4 separate regions of the Homo sapiens genome follow, and regions 1, 2 and 3 are each linked to region 4. Evidence: promoter capture Hi-C in 16 types of primary human blood cells and fetal thymus (Javierre and others, 2016). All regions are on one chromosome and are shown on one strand. The core of a region is centred on a gene start or on the middle of the fragment in contact, and the rest is flanking DNA. Distances in the headings are between cores, read along the strand shown.

What was found. The method cuts DNA at HindIII sites, captures the fragments that hold promoters and counts their contacts. A CHiCAGO score of 5 or more calls a contact.
Region 1: a fragment that was not itself captured here is called in contact with the fragment with the promoter of DOCK4 in region 4 in 1 of 17 cell types (non-activated CD4 T cells); the score reaches 8.8 in non-activated CD4 T cells.
Region 2: a contact is called between the fragment with the promoter of CBLL1 here and the fragment with the promoter of DOCK4 in region 4, in 1 of 17 cell types (fetal thymus). The highest score is 5.9, in fetal thymus.
Region 3: a contact is called between a fragment that was not itself captured here and the fragment with the promoter of DOCK4 in region 4, in 1 of 17 cell types (total CD4 T cells). The highest score is 5.6, in total CD4 T cells.

Annotation. Positions count from the first base shown.
Region 1 is chr7:108,586,861-108,590,341 of GRCh38, reverse strand. No RefSeq gene overlaps it. Among named protein-coding and RNA genes, the nearest start is that of DNAJB9, 19 kb to the right of the region's middle. The HindIII fragment of the contact is 6,518 bases long and covers 1-3,481 here.
Region 2 is chr7:107,742,716-107,746,198 of GRCh38, reverse strand. It overlaps CBLL1 (Cbl proto-oncogene like 1), which reads right to left and starts at 2,057. Exons shown (of 6, transcript NM_024814.4): 1 at 2,023-2,057. The coding sequence starts at 2,035. CBLL1-AS1 (CBLL1 antisense RNA 1) reads left to right here and starts at 1,618. Exons shown (of 2, transcript NR_144537.1): 1 at 1,618-1,826; 2 at 2,796-3,446. RefSeq lists enhancers at 1,583-1,762, 2,113-2,332, 2,430-2,948, 2,949-3,468 and a silencer at 2,373-2,572. The HindIII fragment of the contact is 5,122 bases long and covers 1-3,266 here.
Region 3 is chr7:108,490,213-108,493,743 of GRCh38, reverse strand. PNPLA8 (patatin like domain 8, phospholipase A2) reads left to right here. Exons shown (of 11, transcript NM_001256007.3): 8 at 2,277-2,334. Among named protein-coding and RNA genes, the nearest start is that of PNPLA8, 34 kb to the left of the region's middle. The HindIII fragment of the contact is 536 bases long and covers 1,806-2,341 here.
Region 4 is chr7:112,204,123-112,207,742 of GRCh38, reverse strand. DOCK4 (dedicator of cytokinesis 4) reads left to right here and starts at 1,344. Exons shown (of 53, transcript NM_001363540.2): 1 at 1,344-1,641. The coding sequence starts at 1,605. ZNF277 (zinc finger protein 277) reads right to left here and starts at 1,048. Exons shown (of 12, transcript NM_021994.3): 1 at 936-1,048. The coding sequence starts at 1,026. RefSeq lists an enhancer at 833-952 and a silencer at 1,123-1,472. The HindIII fragment of the contact is 7,990 bases long and covers 1-3,620 here.

The DNA of each region.
Region 1 (3,481 bases), core at 378-2,877, 3.6 Mb after region 4:
TCACATGGCAATCCTCTTCTAGTGCTTTCCAATCTCTTTTTTTACATCAGGGAATACAGTAAAAATGAAAAAAAAATTTACAGCACACTGAGGCAACTGGATAACCCTGTTAGGCCATGGCACAATATTTTGGGAGCCCTATACCCTACACTGACCACAGGATTGGTCACAGGCATTACTACTGCTCTTAAGGCTGAGGCACTTAAGGAACAAATCACAGGCATGCATGTGCCATTTCTGTGGAATCCTCCAGGGCAGCTGAGTGGGAGGATAGCCCTGCCATTCATTAATCAGACACCCTGCGTTCTTCCAACCTCAGGGGTTTTTTCTCTCCTCCTGGGCAGCAGTTTCTATCTTGTGATCTAAACATTAGCTTCCCTTGTGCTTCTATCTTTCTCCTTCCTTCTCTGGGGGAACTCAGTGTAACTCCTTGTTGCCCTTGACACTTGATAAAATGTCCATGTGAGTGGCAAGTGCTAGAATTCAATTCAAATTGGCTTAAGTGAAAAGGAGACTTTTTTGTCTCATATAACTGAAGTGTTCAAGGAAAGATGGTTTCAGGCACAGCTGGACCTAGGGCTAAATGGCTCTGAAATCCTCTATGAAGCTCTTTTCAGGTCCCATAAAGTAGCCATTGGTGATATCAGGTTCACATCAGTCTTTTCTGTTAGCAGTCCCAGCTGAAACATACTTTATAGATTGTCAAACATGAATTCATAGAGATTTCTTTTGACCTCCTATATGACCAATTTGAAAATATTCTAGAAGTGGAGGAAAAGACAGAATTGTTTTGTTTGTAACTAACAAATAGGGGAAATTTTCAGTATACCATTTATTATGGCTTGAAAATGAAATTTCAATTGCATGTCACTGTGCCAATACAAGCAGCTCAGAGGAATTGAGACAGGGAGGAGTTGCTCTTTTAAAGGTCCTCAGCTGGGCATGATGGCTCATGCCTGTAATCCCAGCACTCTGGGAGGTGGAGATGCAAGGGTTACTTGAGGCCAGGAATTCAAGACCAGCCTGGGCAACATAGTGAGACTCTGTCTCTACAAAAAAAAAAAAAAAAAGAACATAAAAATTAAAAAATTAGCCAAGTGTGGTGGCATATGCCTTGCAGTCCAGGCTGAGGCTGGAGGATGGCTTGAACCCAGGAGTTCAAGATTGCAGTGAGCTATGATCGTGATCATGCCACTGCCTGGCTGACCCTGTCTCTTAAAAAAAAAAAAAAGATAAATAAAAGTCCTTAAAAAATAAACTCACACAGAAGATGTCTACATAAAAAGAGTTCACACTTGATTTTAACTTTCTAACAAGGTAAAAGTCTTCTTTCTTTTAAGTTCCCCTCTGATCTCATAACTGAGGGGATGTGACCTAGTTTTCTAAGTATCTCAAGATCCACCAGTATTGATATATAAACTGATTTTGTTTCCTTCCAATAATAATTCCTTATAAGATAGTATCTCTGACAGTTTGGACAATGGCATTTGAACAGAAAATTATTTTCTCACACTAAAATATCTGGAAGAAAAATAATGATAGAAAAGTTATAGAAAAAGAGATGTTATCATTTGGGATTAAAAAAACATATTGTGAGGTGGGCACGGTGGCTCACGCCTGTAATCCCAGCACTTTGGGAGGCCAAGGCGGGTGGATCACCTGAGGCCAGGAGTTCGAGACCAGCCTGGCCAACATGGTGAAACCCTGTCTCTACTAAAAACACAAAAATTACCCAGGTGTGGTGGTGCACACCTGTAATCCCAGCTACTCAGGAGGCTGAGGCGGGAGAATCACTTGAACCCAGGAGGTGGAGGTTGCAGTGAGCCAAGATCACATCATTGCATTCCAGCCTGGGCTATAGTGCGAGACTCCATCTCAAAAAAAAAAAAAAAAAAAAATTTAAAAAAAAATTTAAAAAAAATTTGTGGATGACTAAACCTGTATCCCAATATCTTTATTAACAGATATCATTTATTTGGTATAAGGAAGATGTCCCAATGCAGATGAGTCTAGTTTATCATATAAGTAAAGGATTTTGTAACTTTTCAGAAAATCAAATTATGAGATATACACATATGACGTCGAATTTACTTATTCACTAAATAGTTATGGAAAATTTACCCTATACCAGTCACAGATATAGGCACTTGAGACACAGCAGTGGAAGATCCCTACCTCCAAGTAGCTTATATTCTATCAGGAGGAAACAGATAATAACATAATAAGTAATGAAATAAGGTGATAAGTGCTGTGTGAAAATAAAAACAGAGTAAGATAAAGGGATGGAGAGTGTGAGGGAGGAGGGACACAGTGTGGTATTAAATAGGGTGGCCAGAAAGGCCCCATTGAAGAGGTGACAGGTGAGCCAAGACTGGAAGAAGCTGAAGGGATTGGCTGTATAATCAAGAATGCTCCAAACAGAGGAACCAGCTAGTGCAAAGGCCCTAAAGAGAAAGCAAGCCTGGCGTGTTCCTGGAAGAGTGAGGATTCCTGTCTGGCTAGTACAGAATGAAGAAGGGTGTGATGGTTAATATTGAGTGTCAACTTGACTGGATTAAAGGATGCAAAGTATTGTTCCTGGATGTTCTGTGAGGGTGTTGCCAAAGGAGATTAACATTTGAGTCAGTGGACTGGGAGAGGCAGACCCATCCTCAATCTGGGTGGGCACCATCTAATCAGCTGCCAGTGCAGCTAGAATAAAGCAGGCAGGAGAAGACAGAAGAGTAGACTTGCTGAGTCTTCTGGCCTTCATCTTTCTCCTGTGCTGGATGCTTCCTGCCCTGGAACATAAGACTCCAAGTTCTTGAGCTTTAAGAGTCTTGGACTTATACCAGTGGTTTGCCAGGGGTTCTCGAGCCTTTGGCCACAGATTGATCCACCACTGGCTTCCTTGCTCCTCACCTTGCAGACAGACTATCATGGGACTTCACCTTGTGATCATGTGAGTCAATTCTCCTTAATAATCCCCTTATTTATAATATATACCCTATTAGTTCTGTTGCTCTAGAGAACCCTGGCTAATACAAAGGGGAAAAGCAGTCAAAGATAAAATCAGTGAGGTAAAGGGAAGGTAAGCTGATTGTGTAGGACTTCATAGACTATTGTAAATGATTTAGCTCTTACTGGGAATGGGGAGGGAGTAAATGGAAGGCTTTAGGCAGAAAGATAACAAGTTCTTATGTACCTTTAAAAAGAATAACTCTCATTGTTGGCTTGATAACAGACTAATAAGGGGTAGAGAATGAAAACTTTCTTTTACCTAATAATCCCTATGAAAGATGATGCTGGTACTAACATTGGAGTTGAAAGGAAGCTGTCAGATACTGAAAATACATTGAAGGCAAAGCCAGTGGGATTGCCTATGGAGTGTGAGTGCTAAGAGCATGAAAGAAATCAAGAATCACTCTGGGGTTTTAACCTAAACAACTGGAAGGATGGCTTTACAATCAGCTGAGCTGGAGCAGGTCAGAGTTGGAATATC
Region 2 (3,483 bases), core at 808-3,307, 4.5 Mb after region 4:
ACTTGACTCATAATTCCAGTAGTGGGCTCAAATAAGAATTACTTTCCTAAAGTTGAATGTTTGCTATTCTAACATCAAAATCCCAGTTTCAACTCTATAAATTCCCAAACACTGGAATTCTTTACAGCCTCGTTCTAGGCCGGCTTCTCCTCTGAACACACCCTTCTTAAGTGGTCTCATCTGTCCTCATGCTTTAAAATACCAGCTATAAATAAAGGTACTAACTTCCAAATACGTATTTTCAGTGCAGATCTTTCCTCTCATCTCCACTTGGCATCTCTCCTGTGTCTCAGTAGTTATCTCACACTAGCAGTCCAAGACCAAACACTTGTTCCCAAATTCCCGTCTCACCTCTACAAAAAAAGATTGTTTTCTGCCCCAAGTTTTCCTCAGCTCAATAATGGACCCTACCTAGTTGCTCAAACCAAAAGCCTAGGCATTTCTCCTTTCTCTCACATTCCTTCAAACACCACCAGAGTATTTACTGAAGCTGCCCATTCTCCTTCATTTTCACCAAACCAACCTTCCCTTCCCGTCTACTGCAATCAGCTATTTTCCATCATTCTTACCTCCCTCTCTTACACCATTCTTCATAGAACAGCCTATTGTATTTTTTAAGAGACTGTGTTCCTCCTCCACTTCTGTTCAATGGCTTCATATTCACTTAAATTAAAATTCAAACGTTTACCACGGCTTTCAATGACCTGAATGATGTGCCTGCTGCCCTCCTTTCCAATCTCACTTCAGGACTCCTACCCTCTGGCTATTAGGAGGCTGCAGCTGACTTCACTGTATCTTCCTACCTCAGTGCCTTCGCACTTGCTGGAAATGCTCTTCCTCTTGCTTTTTTCCCAGGGCTGGGTTCTTCTCATCCATCAGATCTTAGCTTCCACAAAGACCATTCCTAACAACCCTCTCTGAAATTTCGTCCTATGAATCTCTCCACAGCACTCGTTTATTTTCTTCAAAATAATCCGCAAACATTAAAAAAATAATAAATTTAAAAAAAAAGAACGTATTGTCTGTGTTCCTCCATAAAACAGAAGTTCTATCACGGACCTGGTCCGTCTCGTTTACCATTCCATCTTCCATCTCCCGACCTATAGATATCTGCATGTATCTTGCATAAATAAACATACACACCTACATAAATAAACATACACACCTAATTATATAACCAAGTAGATATCTGATGAGTGAGGACAACTCAATACTCAAGAAAAAGCCTTTTTTTCTCTATTTGTGATACGGTCGCTATAAATGTATGGGGCACATAACTCCAAGAGCACTCATTCAATATCCAAGAACCACAAAGAAGCAAAAGCCAGAAAATACATAACAAAGGGTGGAGCCACTCTTACTTGGAGAAAAGTATGAGAATGCCTTGATTTTAAACTCCTCTTTGTAAATACCCTCAAATGATGAGTAAGGACCTCAGCCGAAGCGCGGGGCATGCTTTTGGTTTAGGTAGAAAAACTGCTCCGAGTTTGATTCCAAAAACTCTATCAGACTCCCTTCTTTCACCCCTCTAGTCCATAAAGGATCGGAGAGACGACAGGGGGTGACCACTGCAGCACCCGCCCAAAGCTGACTGAGACAGCAGGAAGTCTCCAACCCATTCTCGCCCGTCCACTCCCAGCGTAAAGAGGATTCCGCGACTCGGAGACCGCAATCTACCCGCCAGTCTCCATAACGTAGGCCAGAGCAGCTGGGCTAAATAAAACAGAGCCGGGGCTCTCCCTTCCCGAAGGCCTACATCGCCCACTGGTCCGGGCTCGGAGCTCAGCAGAACCAGAGTAGGAGCGGTTGTTGCCGGCACGGAGGAGGTAGGTACCACACCAGACGGTAGGCCAGGAAACCGCAGGCCCCTGCCGGGCACAGGAAGGCATCTGTGAGATTTCTTCTCACTGCCACACCCTAGTGTTGTGGGGCGAGCATAATCCCTTTTGCCTGCTGTGCGACCAGCCCCAGGCCGGCCAAGGGGGCTTGGAACCGGGACCCCCACTGCCTCCGCCTCCTTACCAGTGTGATCCATGATTCGGCTCGCAGAGCACAGTGGGAGCGGAAGTCAACCGCGCCGGAGTCGCAGCGAGCGCGTGCGCACTGCCTTCCGGAGGCCGGGAGGCGGAAGTCCAAGCAGGTTGTCCCAATTTTGGCCTGCAAAGACTTCCTTCTCTCGCCTCTACTATCCAACTCCTGTGAGGGACTCAGGCATAGTTCGGGCGGAGGCAGAAAGAGCGAGCGCGCGAAGAACTTCGGTATTGAGGTTGCTAAGGCTTCTCCTCATGTGCTTCAAGAGAAAGTAGCCTTTAACTGTGGAAAGGACACCAGGGGGACCGGGGAAGGGGAGAGCAGTGGTAAAAATGAGCCAGAAGCAGATAAGGCGACTGCCCGCCCCGCGGAGAGCTGCCTTCTGGGACTTGTAGTGCGCGGGGCCCCCGGAGCCGGCTGGCTGCGCAGGCTCGGCCGTTGCGCTGGCCCCACCCCGGCGGGCGGAGTAACGGTTTGGAATCCCCCGGGGTCAGCGAGCGCTTGTTTCCTCCGCCTGGTGTAGCAAAAGTGTAAACACGCGCGCTCCGGAAGGCGCCCTCCAGTGGGAGGTTGCTCAGGGGATGGCGGAGCTGTGAAACTCGGAGCTAGAAGGAAAGTCTCAACGCTTGTCTAAATTTTGCTTTGTCGTGACGAGCTACCTAGACCCACGCAGAGCTAACTTGGTATATGCCCCGGTTCCCATCTCTTAAGTCTCTTTACAGTTGAAACACGTTTATAATGCTTGACTGCCACTCACTTTCTAGGGAGAGCGCTTGTGACGCTACGAACCTCTCGAACACCTGACGACTGGGCGCCAGGGCCGGATGGAGGGTGGAGAGCCAGTGCGGCGCAGCTGCCTCCTCTTAACGGGGACACCTTGCAGGAATGTGCGGAGTGGAGCTAACGGGAGCGGATAGAAACCGAGGGAGGGGAAGAGAGCGCGAAGGCTTGGCCGGAAGGAGAGGTTAAAAAGGAAAGGCCTAAAATGAGGAAGAGAGTTACCACAACAAGCAGTACCTAGTTCCAGTTCTTGGTCCCAGGAGTTTGTGGTTGTTGCTGCTTTCATCTTCCTCAGCCAACACAAAAGGAAAGTGCCAAGGGGCGATTCCTAGGACCTTCAGTGCAGTCTCCACCTTGCGGACTTGGCTCATTTGTGTCCACTCCTTTCTCCAGCCTTTTACACTTGATGCTCTTGGATGAATAGAAAGGAGCACAATTAATGGAAAACACAAGCTTGGGAGTCAAGGGATTTGGGTTCTATTCTTGTCCTCCCTTGGTGACGACATCATTACCTTGGGTTATTCAAGCTTTCAGTGCCAGAGTTCCTATATCAATAAAAGATTATTACATTGACCTCTTAGAGAAATGTTTTCATGGTACTGAATTGCAAATAAAGTATGTGTAGCGATGTGTTATATCTTTGTAGTTGTACGGTATTATTTGTGAATCATG
Region 3 (3,531 bases), core at 824-3,323, 3.7 Mb after region 4:
ATTTTGTGGAACATTGACATCTTTCCAATCGTGAAAGCTTCCCATCCATTATCATTGTATGTTACTTATTTTCACATCTTTTGTGTCAATTAGAAAATATAATTCACCTTCCTGGCCTACACGGTGAAACCCCATCTCTACTAAAAATACAAAAAAAAAAAAAAAAAAAAAAAAAGCCAGGCATGGGGGCGGGCGCCTGTAGTCCCAGCTACTGGGGAGGCTGAGGCAGGAGAATGGTGTGAACCTGGGAGGTGGAGCTTGCAGTGAGCTGAGACCACTGCACTCCAGTCTGGGCGACAGAGCGAGACTCCGTCTCAAAAAATATATATATATAAAATTCATATCTATTCCCAGTATTCATACAATCAATACTTTTTATTATTTAATGAAAATTTAAAAATTTATTCTAAAACCAGCTTCTCTACTATGAAATTTTTCCTTTTGTTACTTATGAGAGTATCTTTGCATATTTATGTATTGCTGTCTCATTTTTGCTCTTCTGGCAACTTCTTTATTTTTAATCATGGCATTGATAAATTTTATCAGTGTCGTTAGTTGTTTTTTCTTTCTCTGCTTTTTCAAACTCAGCCTTTGCTGCAGAACAAGCCACTCCAAAACTTAGTGGCTTAAAACAATGATGATTTAGTCTCATGACTCTGTGGTTTGACTGGGTGTTTCTTCTGTTCTTGCCGGAGCTCACTTGGTGGCTCTACCAATGGGCCTGGGAAGCCTCTCTCTCCACCTGGTCATTCTCACCCAAGCTTCGTCTCATCATTGTGGTTTCAGAGTTCCCAGAGAGCAAGCCCCAGTGCATAAGCACTTATCAAGCCTCAGTTTAATGGCATGTTTGTTGAGGTCACATGGACGAAAGCCATGCCAACCAAGAGTCTGTATAGGAAGAGACTGTATACAATGACATGGATACCAGGACTGTGATTCACTGGGTGCCAGTATTGTTAATATTCTTCTATATCTACCTTCTGGCCTTTTTTGTCGTAGCATTTTTTCGCCCATTGTTTATTGAGAGGACTTTTATTTATTTATTTATTTTGCTGTGATAATTTTGTGTTATTTTAAGGGAACTATTTTATGCCATCAGTAGAATCTAGGCATGTTGATTTTTTTTTCATATTTTGACATCTCGGAAATAAACAATTACCATTGCTTTTTTTACAAGTTTATATTCATAAGTGAATTCACTAAAAGCATTTTAGGTTTTGAGAAAACCAAGATTTAAACAAATATAAAAATAAATAAATATGAACTTTGCCAAAAAGTGTGAAATCAGCATGCTCCTAGGATTTCTCTTGTAATTTTACAGTAAGAATTCTGTGAAAAGACAAAGAACCTTAAAAAGATAAAATGCATTGATCTTTATGTAGTAGAAATGTATAGATCAGGTTGGGAAAGACAAAAGATCTTGTCCATTTTGGAAAGTATTTTACATTGATATTTATTAAAGCTTATAAAGGGTAGATCACTGAGCAGTTTGTAAATATTCTTTTTATGAAGTTCACTAATATTCTAGTTGGGAAACATGAGTATTGTTTGAAAAACACATTAGAAAATGGTTTTACTCATGAGGAAGGCTGGTGAAACCATAGTCTTTGTATTCAATATAGGGAAAATACATAATTTTTAAGTCTGGAAAAGTCTGCATTGAAATAAAATTCTCTTATTATGGAATTGCAAAAATTGCTGCCCAAGGACAATTTCTGTAATGTCATAGTAATTCAAATGCCAACTCTGATGATTTTCAAAGCCATTTTCTTGATGACATTGGCTGTTACCAACTAAAACAAGCTTAAAGTCTCATTGTCCTCACCTGGTTACTCTAACTAGCCCGTGCATACTTCTGCAGTCTTATCTCAACACAGCTCCTTTATCCTATTGGCAGGACCCTGAAAACAACAGATTTATTTTGCCTTTGTGCCTTTAATCTGTATATGTCCTAGCTTTAAATATGTTGCCTTGCAGTCTTTCAATGTCTTCCTCCAGCAACCTTCCTGCATCTTTTCCAGTTACTGCCCCTCTGTTCGTTGCTCCACCTCAGAACTGTAGATACTTGCAGTTTGAATCAGAGGTTGATAAATAACTGCATATTGTTTCATGTGCATTAATGGAATTATAAGCCTCCTAGAGGAGAGTCTTACATGTTTTCCTTCATAGCACTTTGACAAAGCCATGGACAAATAGTAATTGCATACTGTATGTTTCCTGGTTGTTAGGAGATAAAGTCATTTTGATATAACTTATTTTTTTCTCCTTTAATAAAGGGATAGGATGGGATCTGCACTGATGATTGAAACAGCAAGAAACCCCACATGTCCTAAGGTAAGCTTAGAGTCTCTTAAATATAACACCTAGTTCCATCTGAAGGTCTGGTGAAAGCACTTGTCCTGAGGGCCATTTTATTTTATTTTATTTTTATTTTTTGAGACAGAGTTTCACTCTTATTGCCCAGGCTGGAGTGCAATAGCACGATCTCGGCTCACCATAACCTCCGTCTCCCAGGTTCAAGTGATTCTCCTGCCTCAGCCTCCCAAGTAGCTGGGATTACAGGCATGCACCACCACGCCTGGCTAATTTTTTTGTATTTTTAGTAGAGACAGGGTTTCTTCATGTTGGTCAGGCTGGTCTCAAACTCCCAAACTCAGGTGATCTGCCCGCCTTGGCCTCCCAAAGTGCTGGGATTACAGGCATGAGCCATCGTGCCCGGCCCTGAGGGCCCTTTTATTAAGGTATTACAGATTGTATTAATTCTTTATATATTGAGTCATTCTATGAAGAGATGGGATATCATCCTTATACCTTTTATAAATTCGGTAAAACTATACCAGAAATGGAAGAACATGAAAGATGGACTGAAAATAAGAATTATTTCATCATAATTTTAAAAATCAAATCTAGTGATTTAAGGAACATTATGACATTTTTTACCCTAGTTTTTTTTTTTTTTTGAGACGGAGTCTTGCTCTGTCGCCCAGGCTGGAGTGCAGTGGCACAATCTCGGCTCACTGCAAGCTCCGCCTCCCGGGCTCACGCCATTCTCCTGCCTCAGCCTCCCAAGTAGCTGGGACTATAGGCAGCCGCCACCACGCCCGGCTAATTTTTTGTATTTTTTAGTAGAGACAGGGTTTCACCATGTTAGCCAGGATAGTCTCGATCTCCTGACCTCGTGATTCGCCCACCTCAGCCTCCCAAAGTGCTGGGATTACGGGCGTGAGCCACCGCGCCCAGCCTTCTTACCCTAGATTTTTAAAGAGAAATTTTATATGCCTCTTAGATACAATACAATCATGCATCACTTAATGATAGGGATACATTCTGAGAAGTGTGTCATTAGATTATTTTGTCATTGTGCAAGTATTATAGAGTGTACTTAGACATACTTAGATGGTATAGCCTACTACACATGTAGGCTAAATGGTATAGCCTATAGTTCCTAGGCTATAAACCTGTGTTATAGAGTGTACTTAGACATACTTAGATGGTATAGCCTACTACACATGTAGGCTAAATGGTATAGCC
Region 4 (3,620 bases), core at 95-2,594:
ACAGTCTGAGAACTATATTTAAGCCCCAAACCATGTTCATCAGAAAAAGACAACTTGTGCTAAATTACACATCAAGACAAAAATGGGGTGGGGGGAATGGGGGAGGGATAGACTAAAGGTAAAAGAGTCCTAAACACAATCCACCTGCAGCTTTCAAAATTTGGTTTTTTATTCCTACAGTGGATCAGAGGACAACCTGAAAGTCAGGTACAGCCAAAGTTGTGATGGTTTTCAAAACTCTTTTCAAATGTTCTTTGAAGCCACGAGTGCAAATTATCTATCACTTTCCTTTTCTTTCTCTAAGGACCCAGAGACTGGGAAGATCTCTCAGGCTCCACATACAAATCTGAAGAACACCCAGAGCAGTTAACCATCTACAGGGAGGTTGTGAGATACACACACTTTCCCTTCAGAGGTCACCTCAGCCACAAACTGGGCAAATCTGTAGAGTGGAGAGCAGTGACCACCAGTCTGCGACTGGAAATACTCCGGAAGCTAAATAAAACACACCTGCGAGGTCAAACCAAGCAAACCAAGGCAGTGTACTGGTGAGGAGAAAGAGCTGCTAATCCCAAAATTATAAACACACGCGCGCGAACCAGATCTGAACCAAACCCACTCAGCAGCTAGCTCAAAGCTGGGAGCTCCAAACCAGAAGACAAACGCTCAGGGAGCTTCCCCGGCGGAGGGGAAGGCCATTCCATGGCATTTTCTCCGCCATCCCATGGCATTTTCTCCGCCATCCCCGGGCAGCCCCAACCAAGTAGCCGCCACCGGCTCCAACCCATCCCGCTGGGCCACCACCCGTGGGGCCCAGTCGAACCCAGGTGGCCCCAGAGCTGAAGGGCTCCTAGGGTCAGACCAGAGGTCCGTTGCACACCCGGTCATAGAGAAAGGAAGACACATCAGCCGCGCCTCCGGGGCACCGTACTCACCCCCATAACCTACACCCCCGACTGTGCTGCAGCTCCCATCACGGTCTTCCTGCATTCGGGCGACAGCCCCCTGGGTCTTGGAAGCAGCCATTACCCGGCAGAAAAGAAAAGGGAGGGCCGCAGGGCGGGTCGGAGGCGGGGTGGCACCAGTAGAAACGCTACTGGAGGCGAACTCCCCGTCGACGTAATGTTTTCTCCACACCTACGCCGCGCTCTGGACCAATAGGACGCAATCAGTAAAACTGAATCCCCGCCCCGAACCACATTTGCCGCGCCCACTTCCGGGATGGGGAGGCCAAGAACTACAATTCCCAGCGTGCTGCGGGGCCCTGGGACGGGAGGGCTGGACTAGGCGCTGGCGGGCGGGGGTGCGCCGGAGAGTGCCCCGGCGTGTTCGCTTAGTTCAGTGAATCAGAACAATGACTGCGCCGCCGGGTACCCGGGAGCGCGTCGGAGGACTGTGAGCAGCCGCCGCCGGGAGAGCTGCGGGCGGCGCAGTGTCAACGCTGGGCTCGGGAGCCTCCAGCGCAGATCCTGCCCAGCGCCCGCAGCCCGCGCGAAGCCGCTGGGCTCCGGCACTGCAGCGCTGCTCGGGGACTGTGCATTGTTGTGAGCCGGAGAAGGGGCGCGGGGATTACAAAGCCTGAAGACCCCGGAGCCCCTTTAGCCATGTGGATACCTACGGAGCACGAGAAATACGGCGTGGGTGAGTCTCCGCGGGGCGAACTTTTATTCTGCTCTGGCCCGAGCGAGTGCGCATTTCTCGTCCTTGCCCCCGCGCCCCTCTCGCTCCGCCCGGTTGAAAATGCCTAATCCTGGCATCGCGCAGCTGGTACGGGGCTTTGCCGAGCCAGCTCCAGGCAGAGGGCTGCGCACCAGGCTCTCGCCCCGCACCGCCTGCTCGGCGCGCCCCGCACTGGTTCCCGAAGCGCCGGGACAGCTTGGGGGAGCGCGCGGCCGGCCCGCTAGCTTCGGGCTCTGCCTGCGGAGTTTGGAGTGGCGACTGGGCGTGTGTGTGTGTGTGTGTGTGTGTGTCAAGTTGGAAGAGGAGGCGAATGGGGTTTCTCTCCTTCCTTACCCTTCTTCCCCAAAGCGACAGGGAGCTGCAACGGTTCCTCTGGGTGGAGAGGGAGACAACAACACTCGGGCAGAGAGAACACCCCCAAAACAGTAGGGAGGCGCAAACCCTTCCCTCTGGCTCGGATCGACATTCCCGGAGTGTGGAATGTGGCAGGGTCCTGGAGAGAGCCGCTCTGACAAGCTGAGCCCTCTCTGACCCTCCTCCCTCTCTGCGATCCCGGATTTATGGGGTGTGTATGTTGCGGGGCGGGGGCATTGGTAAATTTCAACATCTGCGCCGCTCGGTTCTTTGGTCTTTGGAGAAGAACGGGTATTTCAGCAGTGTTTTTACTTCTGGCCACCCTCTCGACCCCGGGTGAGCGCAGTGGGGGCGGTGTGGCGGTACAGGGCTGCTGAGTGATAAATGGGGAGGGGGATCGGAAAGCCTGGTTCTTGGGGGCAGGGAGATAGCTTTTAGGAAAGCATACCCTGACACTGGCGTTCGGAGAAAAAGGAACAGGATAGCTCTCGCTGTTCTGTGTAAAGGTGAACAACAAAGGACATTAATGTTGACTGATGAATACAGGAGTCTCCCTTCCTTTTCCTCCTCCCATTTCAGGCGGGTTACAGTTCCCGTTTTTGTTGTTTGATTTCAGCTGGGTCGCCCCTTGACAGTTACTCCTTTTAGGGTTGAGACTATTAAGAAGCCAGGCTCTCCGACAAGGCTGCAGCCGGCCAAATGCAATTATAACCTCCCAGAAGGTCTAACAGAAAGCATTATGGATTTTACTAACACTCTTTATTTCCTATAATGCCCTGTTCTGCCGACTGGTGTACTTTGTGTGTGTGTGTGTGTGTGTGTGTGTTTTAAAATTGAGGACAGGTCTAGTGATTTAGGTGATGTGTAGATATCTGCTTATGTTCTAAATTCATTTTCCTGCAATTTAAAACATCTGGAAAGCCTTCCCAGGGAGTCGTAGTCCGAGGGGATTTTTGTTTTTTTTTTTCCCAACTTTGCCTGGGGATAGGACTTTGGGGTCCATTGAAAGGACTGTAGGATTCAACAAAATCATTCCCACATTTCACGTTAGCTTCCATTCTGGATTGTGACTAATTACCAAGACAATAGTTTGACCTGAACCCACCTTTGGGAAAGGTTTCCAGCTTTCCCTCCTTCAAAGTGTCAGAGGAGTCTTTGCCAGCCTCTTTACTGGCAAGGAGTAGATGTTAGTAGTTGTTATTTTCGTTCTCCTCACTCTTCTCTTTTTTGGGAGGTAGATTAACCCTTGCTAGGGAAAAAGATAGTCCCTTTGCTGGACTGGTGAGGGACCCGAGGGCATCGCCTCCTAAGCGGCTTTAACACTCAGTGCAGGAAGCTCAGATCCATCCAGGCAAAACTGTCCTGCTTGGAGTCGATCCCAGATGTTGCTTTCTTCCAAGTGTTAAATTATACAGATTATGGATGGGATTTATTTTCTTGATTTCTTCATGTGCCAGGTCACAGCTGGGGTGCTGGTATCGATTAGTTCCTCTCTTGCCTTTCTTTACAAGCGGTGGGCAGAGGCTTAAAAACCACTCTGGGATTTCCTGGAATGGCAAACCGGATATTATCAGTCAAATGTTTTG